2 separate regions of the Homo sapiens genome follow, and region 1 is linked to region 2. The links are contacts of gene promoters, found by promoter capture Hi-C in human tissues and cell types (Jung and others, 2019). All regions are on one chromosome and are shown on one strand. The core of a region is centred on a gene start or on the middle of the fragment in contact, and the rest is flanking DNA. Distances in the headings are between cores, read along the strand shown. Region 1 overlaps KBTBD6-DT (KBTBD6 divergent transcript). Region 2 holds the start of KBTBD7 (kelch repeat and BTB domain containing 7).

The links. Contacts are between HindIII fragments. The study calls those that stand out against the background at their distance.
Region 1: a contact is called between a fragment that was not itself captured here and the fragment with the promoter of KBTBD7 in region 2, in 1 of the 25 tissues and cell types used here (pancreas).

The regions. Positions count from the first base shown.
Region 1 is chr13:41,159,261-41,165,844 of GRCh38, reverse strand. KBTBD6-DT (KBTBD6 divergent transcript) reads right to left here. Exons shown (of 4, transcript NR_120423.1): 3 at 3,442-3,582. Among named protein-coding and RNA genes, the nearest start is that of KBTBD6-DT, 30 kb to the right of the region's middle. The HindIII fragment of the contact is 7,292 bases long and covers 690-6,584 here.
Region 2 is chr13:41,192,459-41,198,512 of GRCh38, reverse strand. It overlaps KBTBD7 (kelch repeat and BTB domain containing 7), which reads left to right and starts at 3,944. Exons shown (of 1, transcript NM_032138.7): 1 at 3,944-6,054. The coding sequence starts at 4,256. All of the region lies in intron 3 of KBTBD6-DT (KBTBD6 divergent transcript), which reads right to left. RefSeq lists enhancers at 3,774-3,863, 4,174-4,443, 3,788-4,494, 4,495-5,202. The HindIII fragment of the contact is 7,226 bases long and covers 66-6,054 here.

The sequences.
Region 1 (6,584 bases), core at 3,086-5,585, 33 kb after region 2:
ATCATACTTTAGGCCACAAAATAACGATAAATACATTTAAAATACTTAAATCATAGAAAGTATCTTCTCTGACCACGATGAAGGGAAGCTAGAAATCAATAACCAAAGGAAAATGGAAAATTCACAAATGTATGGAAATTAAACAACACACTCTTAAACAACCAATGGATCAAAGAAAAAAATCAACAAGGGAAATATGAAAGTACTATATAAATTAAATGCAAAACACAACCTACCAAAACTTACAGGATGCAGCAAAAGTAGTGCTCATAGGGAAATCATAGTTGCAACTGCCTACATTAAAAAAGAAGAAAGAGCACAAATCAATAACCTAACCCTATTCCTTAAAGAACAGGGGAAAAAGAAGAGTAAACTAAGGACAAAACTGGTAGAAAGAACAGTCTCTTCAATAAAAGGTACAGGACAACTGGATATGCACATGCAAAAGAATGGAATTAGACCCCCATCTCATACCATATACAAAAATTAAGTTGCAATGATTGGCCAATGACCTAAATATAAGAACTAAAACTATAAACTCTCAGAAGAGTTAGGGGTAAATCTTCATAACTTTGAATTTGGCCATGGAGTCTTAGATGTGACACTGAAAACACAAGCAACAAAATAAAAAATAAACTGGACTTTCTCAAAATTAAAAACTTCTGTTTGTCAAAGGATATTCTCAAGAAAGTAAAAAGACAACAACAGAATGGAAGAACATATTTGCAAATTATATATCTCATAAGGGTCTAACATCCAGAATATGTAAAGAATTCTTACAACTCAACAACAAAAAGACAACCCAACTTAAAAATGGGCAAAGGACTTAGACATTTTTCCAAAGATGATAAACAAATGGACAACAAGTACATGAAAAGATGCTCAAGATCATTAGTCATTGGGGAAATGCAAATCAAAACCACAATGAAATACAGCTTCATACCCACTAGAAATGGGTATAATTATACAACTATGGCTACTAAAAAGGATGAGATGGGGAAATAGCAAGTGTTGGTGAAGATGTCGAGAAATTCAAACCTTTGTACATTCCTGGTGGGAACGTAAAATGGTTCAGCCTCTAAGGAAAACAATTTGTTAATTCCTCAGTAAATTACATATAGAATTACCATATAACCCAGCAATGTCACTTCTAAGTATATATCCCAAAGAATTGGCAACAGGTATTTTAACAAATACTTGTACACGAATTAATGTTCATAGCAGCCCTATTTGCAATAGCCAAAAGGAGGTGGAAACATCCCAAGTGTCCATCAATTGATGAGTGAAAAAAACCAAAATGTGGCATATTTATTCAATAGAATATTATTCAGCCATAAAAAGGAATGAAGTACTGATACACTCTACAACAAGGATTAACCTCAAAGGCAAATAAAATGTTCACTTCAAAATTGTTAATTTTACATTATGTGAAATTCACCTCAATCACCAATTCCACACAGTGGAATTTCACAGTGAGCAAGCCTATGCAAACCAACCACTAAATTCCAAGGAAGCGGAGAATTCAAAGAAAGAGGCTTACATATCCAGTTTCTCAGGAAGAAACTTTCCTTCCTTCCTTCCTTCCTCCCTTCCTTCCTTTTCTTTTTCTCCTTCTCCTTCTCCTTCTTCTCTCTCTCTCTCTCTTTCTTGTTTTTTGAGACAGAGTCTCACTCTGTCACCAGGCTGGAGTGCAGTGGCATGATCTCAGCTCACTGCAACCTCCAATTCCCTAGTTCAAGCAATTCTCCTGCCTCAGCCTCCTGAGTAGCTGGGATTACAGGCATGCGCCACCACGCCCCGCTAATTTTTGTATTTTTTGTAGAGACAGGGTTGCACCATGTTGGCCAGGATGGTCTCGATCTCCTGACCTCGTGATCCGCCCGCCTCGGCCTCCCAAAGTGCTGGGATTACAGGCGTGAGCCACCATGCTCGGCCTCTTCTCTTGTCTTGTCTTCTCTTCTCTCTCTCTTTCTCTCTCTCTTTCCCTCTTTCTTTCCCTCCCTCCCTCCCTTCCTTCCCTCCTTCCTTCCCTCCTTCCTTCCTCTCTCTCTTTCCTTTCTCTCTCTCTTTCCTTCCAGACAGGCTCTCACTGTGTCACCTAGGCTGAAGTGCAGTGGCATGATCACAGCTCACTGCACCCTTGAACTCCTGGCTCAAGCAATCCTCATGCCTCAGCCTCTGTAGCTAGGACTAGAGACATGTGTCTCCATGCCCAGCTAACTTTTTTGTGTTTTGTAAAGGGAGGAGGGGGGTCTCACTATGTTGCTCAGGCTGGTCTTGAACTCTTGGCCTCAAGTGTTCCTCCTACTTTGCCTCCCAAAGTGCTGGGATTATAGGTGTGAGCCACTGCACCTGACAGAAACATTTAATAGTGACTTATGAATAGAAACCATGTCTGTGTCTCAGGTAGTGTGGAGACAGGTTGGTGGATCCCCACGCCATTACACCCAGAACCAAGGCCTATATACCATGGGGAAAGGGTATATGTGATACAGAAGTGATGTGTAGGAAAATTATTCAAGGGCAGGACTTAAGGTAAGTACATGATCTTACACAAGGAACAGTAAGCAAAATAAATAATTAAAAAAAAACCTTAGAGGCCTTTTTGGAAATGGGGTTAATCAGAACTCAATATGGCAGATCAACATCCAAGATGGAGTTGCTTTAGCCCCCACACTCCATCCCTCTTAATCTCACACACCCTCCTCTTCTGGGCCTTTAGGGAAAGTGCTTGACATTGCACAACTTTAGCAGCAGTGGGTTGGCAGGGAAAACAGATCAGACCCAGTAGCATTCCAAATTAGGGAGATTCACAGGCTTTGGTTTGTCATCTCTAGTCATTGGAATACCGTGACTTTGGTTTTCTTGGAAGAAGTAAAAGTAGAGATATATAACATTAATAATTTGAATAGTAGAAATATAATGCACACAAGGATTATAATAAAAAAGGGCATGAAGACAATTAAATCTCGGTTTTTCTTTAGAAATTTGTAGCCAGGAAATAATTCAGGATTCAGTTTGAATTATAGGCAAATAATAAAACTCAGAAACAATCATTAAGGCTACAGTCTAATAATGAGCATACTATAGTTTTCTTCTGAAACATAGTTTTTCTCAACAGTTTTCCCATTTCTACTAAGGATAAATCAAAGTAGGGCCAATTTACTTGTGAAATAAATTTAGTCTCATTAACTTGACCTGACTATTTGCATAAAGTGCAGGGATTGGCCATATTGGCTCCTTTTAAGATGGCTTCACTGGGACACTTTTCATAAGGAATCTCAGATTAGACTTCTATAAGCCCTGAGGCTAACCAAGTCAAGGATTCGCTATCCGATTGTGCCTGTCATACCTGTATGAATGGGTGTATTCCTCTCTTCTTGAGGCCCAAAAATAACTTGAGGTTCCTGGGCCTGCCAGAAAGTGACATTTTTTACTTACCAGAGGTAGGCTGGCCTTTCTGTGGGGGTTTTATCAGCTCTGCAACATCAGCCTCATTTCCTCAAAGCAATGTGGTCATATCTGAAAATATGCCATTCCAGTCAAGGCCTTGATAGAAGAACCTGTGTCTCCAATTGTGTCCTGTTACAAAAGAAAACAGATTCTTACTGAACTTATGCAAATAACTGTATTCCCATGTCATACGAATATATGAATAGTTTCCAGTTTTGGAGATATCAGGTAGAGAGACAGGTAAATTTTGTTCACAATAGTATACTTTACAATTAGAGTAGCAGCCTTCCAAACAGGATATTGTCCTTTCACCTTGGAACTGCCATCCACAAACCAAGCAGCTCTTTGTCAGTCAGGTGAGAGCTGTTTATTGGGCACTGTAGAATCCAGCAGCCCCTCACACAGTTTCAGAGTGACTCCTAGGGAAAAAGAGACTCCCTGCTCCTATCTCCTCCTTGCATCCTTCAAATAGCAGGATACTACACAAATCATTCCCATTTTATTGGTGGGACCCTTTTGGGTGCTGCTATCCTCATTAGAGTGTTTCTCTGACATTCAGACATTACTATTTCAGGTGTCAAGGCCATTTTATGCCCTTCAATCATAGCAGTAGCTTCAGCTAACATCCAATTACAAGGCAGCAAATACCCCCAAATGAAAATTCTCTAGTGAAGGTGCTCATAGACTTTTGCCATAAGCCCCAATAAAAATTCTACAAGGAGCTATCCAGTGGATAATTTGTTCCCTACCAGCACTTCAGCTTCTACTCTATACTTTGTGGGCTTGGTCAGTCTTACTGGTTCCCACTGAGCATGTCCAATTAGTATTGCTCAAAGGGAAGATTTACATGCTTTCTAGTTCACAGTACTAGGAAGGGGAATCATCCTCCAGTCATATACAATGTCCATTCCCAGAAAACATTTAGGTAAAGGAGACACAGCTACTTTACATAAAGCCTGTTCAAACATTTTAACTCTTAAAATCCTATTGACCCTTACATTTTATGTTGTAGTCCCAGGAAACTTTTTCTCCACCCTAGACCATTTTACCCTTTCTTGTGAAAAAGGATCTGAGTTCCCAACAGGGAGCTGAGCCAAGGCACTTGGGCTCATTGGTCAATCCTTATCTTGATTAACTGCCTCAACATTGCCCCAATTTTTGGTCAGCTTTCTCACTGTAATCTTTACCTTCTGATTTTTTTTCTTAAATTTCACAAATCTGGGGCAAATACAGAAAACTGATTTGGGCTCTATAATGTTTGTAGACAGGCAGGGCTCCCTCTTTGATAGTGTTGTATTAAGACCTTTGTTTTAACCCCATCAATTTGTTTTATTTATCCCATTTTTAATAACTATTTAAACATGTTTACCCTGCTGGGATGAGTCCCATGACTCTCCCCTTTCTTTTTCCTTTTAGTTTCACCCTTATCAATGCTCTCTGTATTCTTTTTTTTTTTTTTTTTTCTGACATGGAGTCTTGCTCTTGTCACCCAGGCTGGAGTGCAATGACGTGATCTTGGCTCGCTGCAACCTCCACCGCCCGGGTTCAAGCGATTCTCCTGCCTCAGCCTCCTGAGTAGCTGGGATTACAGGCGCCTGTCACCACGCCCAGCTAATTTTTGTATTTTTGTAGAGACATGGTTTCGCCATGTTGGCCAGGCTGGTCTCTAACTCCTGACCTCGTGATCCACCTGCCTCAGCCTCCCAAAGTGCTGGGATTACAGGCGTGAGCCACTGTGCCCAGACTATTCATCTTATTTCTTAATAAACATTTAAAAATTTACACCCTTCTGGGAGGAGTCTTTTGACTCTCTGCTCTAACCTTCACCATGTTCTTGTTAATTAACCTAACTTTTAAAATTAATACCTGTAAGACCCATCAAGGAAAGCTGAGACAACAAGTTTGATAAGGCTTCTAGGACTCTTGTTCCATTTTTCAGGAGTGATGTCATTACATGTGGTACCTTTCATGCGTGTCCGTGTGAAGAGACCACCAAACAGGCTTTGTGTGAGCAACATGGCTGTTTATTTCACCTGGGTGCAGGCGGGCTGAGTCCGAAAAGAGAGTCATCGAAGGGAGATAAGGGTGGGGCCGTTTTATAGGATTTGGGTAGGTAAAGGAAAATTACAGTCAAAGGGGGTTTGTTGTCTGGCGGGTAGGAGTGGGGTTCGCAAGGTGCTCAGTGGGCAGGAGTGGGGGTCGCAAGGTGCTCAGTGGGGGTGCTTTTTGAGCCAGGATGAGCCAGGAAAAGGACTTTCACAAGGTAATGTCATCAGTTAAGGCAAGGACCGGCCATTTACACTTCTTTTGTGGTGGAATGTCATCAGTTAAGGTGGGGCAAGGCATATTCACTTCTTTTGTGATTCTTCAGTTACTTCAGGCCATCTGGGCGTATACATGCAAGTCACAGGGGATGCGATGGCTTGGCTTGGGCTCAGAGGCCTGACAGTACCCGTGTAGAAGGGGTCCCCTTAACCACAGCATTTACCATAACCTGGGTAACAGGCATATTCAGTGGGTGAATATACTGGTCCTCATAAAGCCAATCCCACATGGCTTGCACATGCTTCATCTGAATTACCCAACTTGGTATTTACAGGGGGAGTTGAACAGACCCCCTTTTCGGGGTAAAAAGATCTTACAGTGGCTTTTATCCAGTCCACCAGCCCAGTTCTTCTCTCAGGAATAACCTATGTGTCTGGATCATATATATGAATCTGCAATTGTTCTATAGTGACCTGTGGGTCCTGCATCACCCAAACATGTTTTTCCACTGTGCAGCATTTCAAACCAAAGCCACTGCTTCCAAATTAGTTACTCTCATAATCCATTTTGGTAAAAGTTCCTCAGGGAGCTGCTGATACTGTTGTACAAAATGGAATGATTCCTTCATACTATACCCTATGGTTTCAACTGTTGCTTGCTTTTGCCCTTCTGCCACATTGACTACCCACAAGTATCAAAGGTACTTTCTGTTGTGCTGGCATACTTTTTCTCCCTTGTGGGTAGATTTGAGGCTAAGAATCTGAGCTCAGACAGACCCATATCTGAGGTTGGTCCAGGCTCAAGCCCCAACCAGGCACTCTCTTTTACTTTCATTTTAGCTTTTATAGATAACAATAACTAAAAGG
Region 2 (6,054 bases), core at 2,695-5,194:
GGATTACAGGTGTCCGTCACCACATCCAGCTAATTTTTGTATTTTAGTAGAGACGGGGTTTCACCATGTTCCCCAGGCTGATCTGGAACTCCTGGGCTCAAGTGATCTGCCCGCCTTGGCCTCCCAAAGTGCTGGAATTACAGGTGTGAGCCACTGTGCCCAGCCCCACCCCTTGCTTTTAATACCCATCCCCTTCATTAAAGATGCCCTATATCTATGACTTCCCGGCTCTCAGAAGCTGAGAAATTGATTTGTGAGCCATGCTCCTGCTTCTCAAATCCATGGCCATGGAATAAAACCTGCACTGCTTGATGCTCACTTTCAGTTTCGCATCTTGGCTTCATGACATAGAACAGGGAAAAATCTCATCTTCACAGGACCAGCTTTGTCATTAACACTATTATGAAGATACTTATACAAGTGTTTTTGTGGATATATGTTTTCATTTCCCTGAGGCAACTGCCTGGGAGTGAAATTACACGGCGTTTAACATTAAAAGAAACTACAAAAGAATTTTCTAATGTGGTTATACCAATTTATATTCCTATTATTAGCATATGAGAGTTCCAACGGCTCCATATCTCCACTAATATATAGTATCATTGATGTTTTTAAGTTAAGGCATTCTAGTGGGTATTCAGTGTTTTCTTATTGTGAATTTAATGTGCATTGGCCACCGGGTATACATGTTACCAATATTTTTTCCCAGTCTGTGGTTTATCTTTTGTTGTTTTCACTGCCTTTCCATAGGCAGCAGCTTGTAATTTTGTTGAAATTCACTTTTGAAATTCACTTTGTCTTTTTTTTATGATCTGTGTTTTTGGTGTCCCAAGAAAACTTTGCCAACCGCAAAGCTATAGTCTTCTATGTTTTCTTTTCTTTTCTTTTTTTTTTTTTTCTGAGACGGAGTCTCGCTCTGTCGCCCAGGCTGGAGTGCAGTGGCGCAATCTTGGCTCACTGCAAGTTACGCCTCCTGGATTCATGCCATTCTCCTGCCTCAGTCTCCTGAGTAGCTGGGCCTACAGGTGTCTGCCACCATGCCCAGCTAATTTTTTGTATTTTTAGTAGAGACAGGGTTTCACCGTGTTAGCCAGGATGGTCTCAATCTCCTGACCTCATGATCCGCCTGCCTCAGCCTCCCAAAGTGCTGGGATTACAGGTGTGAGCCACTGCACCCGGCCCTATGTTTTCTTTTTGAAGCTTTATAGTTTCCACTTTTCCATTTAGTATTAGGAGAAATTTTGAATTAATTTTTTGCTTATGGTGTAAGGTAGGGGCAAGGGCAACTTTCTGTCTTACATTCTTGATCCAGTTGTTCCAATAACATTTGTTGAAAAGAATTTTCTTTCTTCATTGAATTGCATTGGTATCATGCTGTATTTCTAAAATTTTAAATTTAATTCCTCAGTTGCACTAGCCACATTTCACGTACCCAAGAGCTACATGTGGCTTCTGGCTACTGTATCAGCCAGCACAAATATAAAATATTCCCAAGTTTTATGGGACAGCACATAGCTCTAGATCTTAGGGAATAGTGCCTAATAGATATCTTCAATTGTGTGACAGGTAACCTAAACCAAATAACACAGTAAGAGCAGATATAAGGAAGGTAAAAATCAGTCACTGCCTATATGAGGTACCTAGAGTAGTCAAAAGTCATAGAGACAAAGAGTAGAATGGCAGTTGCCAGAAGTGGGGGCTAGAGAGTTATTGTTTAAATGGGTACAGAGCTTCAGTTTTGTGATAGTGGCAAAACCGTGTGAATATATTTAATGCTAAAGAACTATACACTGAAAATGTTTAAATGGTAAATTTAGTGTTATGTATATTTTACCAATATTTTAAGAAGTTTTTTAAAATGGCCATTCCTGCGCTGGGCATGTGGCTCATGCCTGTAATTGCAGCAACTCAGAGGCTCAGGCAGGAAGAGTGCTTGACACCAAGATTTCCAGACCAGGCTGGCAACACAGTGAGACCCTGTCTATAATTTTTTTTTAATTAACTGGGTGTGGTGGTATGCATCTATAGCTCTAGTTACTTGGGAGGCTGAGGGCAAAGTATTGCTTGAGCACTGGAGTTTGAGGCAGCAGTGAGCTATTATGGTGCCACTGCACTCCAACCTGGGTGACAGGGCAAGACCCCATCTCAAAAAAAAAAAAAAAAAAGAAAAAAAAAAGGCTTTTTTCCCCAGCTGGTATTCACTGCAAGTCAGGAAACAATCATTGTTACTGATAATGACTGACTTGATTCTCTCTGGTGTATCTGAGGGATATCTAACATCTCTTTTTATTTACAGAGGAGTTATTAGAGCCCAGAGGCTGACTTAATTTAATGTGTCTACCCTAGAGTATTTCCAGTGGACTTCAGCTGATAAGTTGAAGTTATCTTCAGCTGATAAGAGAAAAACAATTTGAAAGTTATTCTCTTGTAATGTGTTATCCATACATGCATGTAACACTGATGATTTTCTTTATTAGGTTATGGTAACATAACAAACTAGCAGCAGGAGCAGTCATGGTTTTGTAATAAAAGTTATCTGAAAAAGTCTGTTACTGGTGGAGGGTGTCCAGGTTCTTGGCGTTTTGGACAAAAAATTGGACAAAACACATAAACAAAGCAAGGAAACAATGAAACAACAAAAGCAGAGATTTACTGAAAATGAAAGTACACTCCACAGTGGGGAGCGGGCCTGAGCATAGGGGCTCAAGGGCCCTGTTACAGAATTTCTGAAGGTTTAAATACCCTCTAGAGGATTCCACTGGTTACTTGGTGTACACCCTATGTAAATGAAGAGAATGAAGTAAAGTTACAAACTCATTTACTCAGCATACACCCTATGGAGAGGATCTTTCCTGTTATAGCTAAAGTGTGAATCAGCCTTATGTTCCCTGCCTCCAGACCCTATTTTCCTGCCTCAAATCTCTAATACTTGATTTTGATGATTTAACTGTTGATCCCAATGCAAATATAAAAGACTTTGTAAAGCATAGACTATACTATATATTAATTCAAGGAATGTCAGGGCATGTACTGATGTTGAATTCTGAGAATCATGTGCTTTTGTACAGAACAAAGTCTGTTTGTTGAAATATTTTGAGTTAAAATACTCCCTAAAACTCCTTAATAAAGGGAATTACATAATCTGTTAATTGATTTGTGGAACGGCAGTGAAAGAGGCTGTATTAGACGACTTGAAAACACTCATATTTGGAGCTTAACGAAAATACTCCTGCTCTCCAGAGATGAAATGTTAGTGAGAGCAGCAAATAATTTATTTTTATATGCTGGATTTGCGTATTTGAGACCATCTATTAATACTGTTCTTTAGGACCTCAACCTAGTCGTCTAAGACATCCTTATTAAACGAGACCAATAGATATCATTTAATATTGAAAATATTGTTAATGCCCTTCAAAATCTTTCGAAGGAATAAACATTAAAAACTAGAAATTCTTTGTAAAATTTTGCGGTTTAAAATAATACTCGGTTTCAAATTAGTGGGTGCCTCATTTATCATAAATTATAAAAGAGAATCTAACAGTTATTGGCTACATTCTAGGCACGGGGTAACGCTTTACTATTCTTCTAACCAAAAACATACATGTATCTAAGTATCCCATGTAAGGTATCATTGAACCACACAAAACCCTATGAAATACTGGCAGGGGGCGGTGGCTCACGCCTGTAATCCCAGCACATTGAGAGGCCGAGGCAGGAGGATAATTTGAGCCCTCAGGAGTTCAAGACCAGCCTGGGCAACAGTCTCTTCACCATCAAATCCAGGAGAATTAATTTCTACTGTTAGAGCAGTCAACTAAAGGACAGCTCGCGATATTACACAAACTACTACTCCCAACATGCAAAGCGGTTTCTTTCCCTCTGTCCCCGCCCGGCCGTCCGAGAGCCCCAGCAGGCCTCGGGGCGCGAAAGGCAACCTGGGAGCAGTAGTTCTCCCGGGCGCCTAGCGGGATCGCCAGCGCGGCAGTGGGGGCTTCCGCGGCTGCAAGCCAGCGGGTCCTGTGAGGGCGAGCGGAGGCGGAGAAAGGGCGCGGGAGTGAGAGAGGGTGAGTCAGCCACTGTCTATGCAATAAAGGGAGGCCTCACCGCGGGATAGGGCTGAATTCAGAAGTGCGGCCCGTGCCGCAGTCTGTTCCAGGACGCGGCTTGTCTTAGCGTCAGCGAGGGAAGGTTGAGGAGGAGCCAGAGCCTGGTCCTGCAGCCTTTCTCGCCGTCAGCGCCCGTCGCCATCTCCACCATGCAGTCCCGGGAAGACGTCCCGCGCTCTCGCCGCCTCGCCAGTCCCCGTGGTGGGAGGCGGCCCAAGAGGATTTCCAAGCCCTCGGTTTCGGCCTTTTTCACGGGTCCAGAGGAGTTAAAGGACACGGCCCATTCTGCAGCCCTGCTGGCACAGCTCAAGTCCTTCTACGACGCGCGGCTGCTGTGTGATGTGACCATCGAGGTGGTGACGCCTGGCAGCGGGCCTGGCACGGGTCGCCTCTTTTCCTGCAATCGCAACGTGCTAGCAGCTGCGTGTCCCTACTTCAAGAGCATGTTCACAGGTGGCATGTACGAGAGCCAGCAGGCCAGCGTGACCATGCACGATGTGGACGCCGAGTCCTTCGAGGTGTTGGTCGACTACTGCTACACGGGTCGTGTGTCTCTCAGTGAGGCCAATGTGCAGCGCCTGTACGCGGCCTCCGACATGCTACAGCTGGAATATGTGCGGGAAGCCTGTGCCTCCTTCTTAGCCCGACGTCTTGACCTGACCAACTGCACCGCCATCCTCAAGTTTGCAGACGCCTTCGACCATCACAAGCTTCGATCTCAGGCCCAGTCCTACATAGCTCACAACTTCAAGCAGCTCAGCCGAATGGGTTCAATTCGGGAGGAGACTCTAGCAGATCTAACCCTGGCCCAGCTGCTGGCTGTCCTACGCCTGGATAGTCTGGACATAGAGAGTGAGCGGACTGTATGCCATGTAGCTGTGCAGTGGCTGGAGGCTGCTGCCAAAGAGCGGGGTCCCAGTGCTGCAGAAGTCTTCAAGTGCGTGCGCTGGATGCACTTCACTGAAGAAGATCAGGACTACTTAGAAGGGCTGCTGACCAAGCCCATCGTGAAGAAGTACTGCCTGGACGTTATTGAAGGGGCCCTGCAGATGCGCTATGGTGACCTGTTGTACAAGTCTCTGGTGCCAGTGCCAAACAGCAGCAGCAGCAGTAGCAGCAGCAACTCTCTTGTATCTGCAGCAGAAAATCCACCCCAGAGACTGGGTATGTGTGCCAAGGAGATGGTGATCTTCTTTGGACATCCTAGAGATCCCTTTCTCTGCTATGACCCTTACTCGGGGGACATTTACACAATGCCATCCCCTTTGACCAGCTTTGCTCACACTAAGACTGTCACCTCCTCAGCTGTCTGTGTGTCCCCAGACCATGACATCTATCTAGCTGCTCAGCCCAGGAAAGACCTCTGGGTGTATAAACCAGCTCAGAATAGTTGGCAGCAACTTGCAGATCGCTTGCTGTGTCGTGAGGGCATGGATGTGGCATATCTCAATGGCTACATCTACATTTTGGGGGGACGAGACCCTATTACTGGAGTTAAGTTGAAGGAAGTGGAATGCTACAGTGTTCAGAGAAACCAGTGGGCATTGGTGGCTCCTGTCCCTCATTCCTTCTATTCCTTTGAACTCATAGTGGTTCAGAACTATCTTTATGCTGTCAACAGTAAGCGCATGCTTTGCTATGATCCTAGCCACAATATGTGGCTGAACTGTGCTTCTCTTAAACGTAGTGACTTTCAGGAAGCATGTGTCTTCAATGATGAAATCTATTGTATCTGTGACATCCCAGTCATGAAGGTCTACAACCCAGCTAGGGGAGAATGGAGGCGGATTAGTAATATTCCTTTGGATTCAGAGACCCACAACTACCAGATTGTCAATCATGACCAAAAGTTGCTTCTCATCACTTCTACAACCCCACAATGGAAAAAGAACCGAGTGACAGTGTATGAGTATGATACTAGGGAAGATCAGTGGATTAATATAGGTAC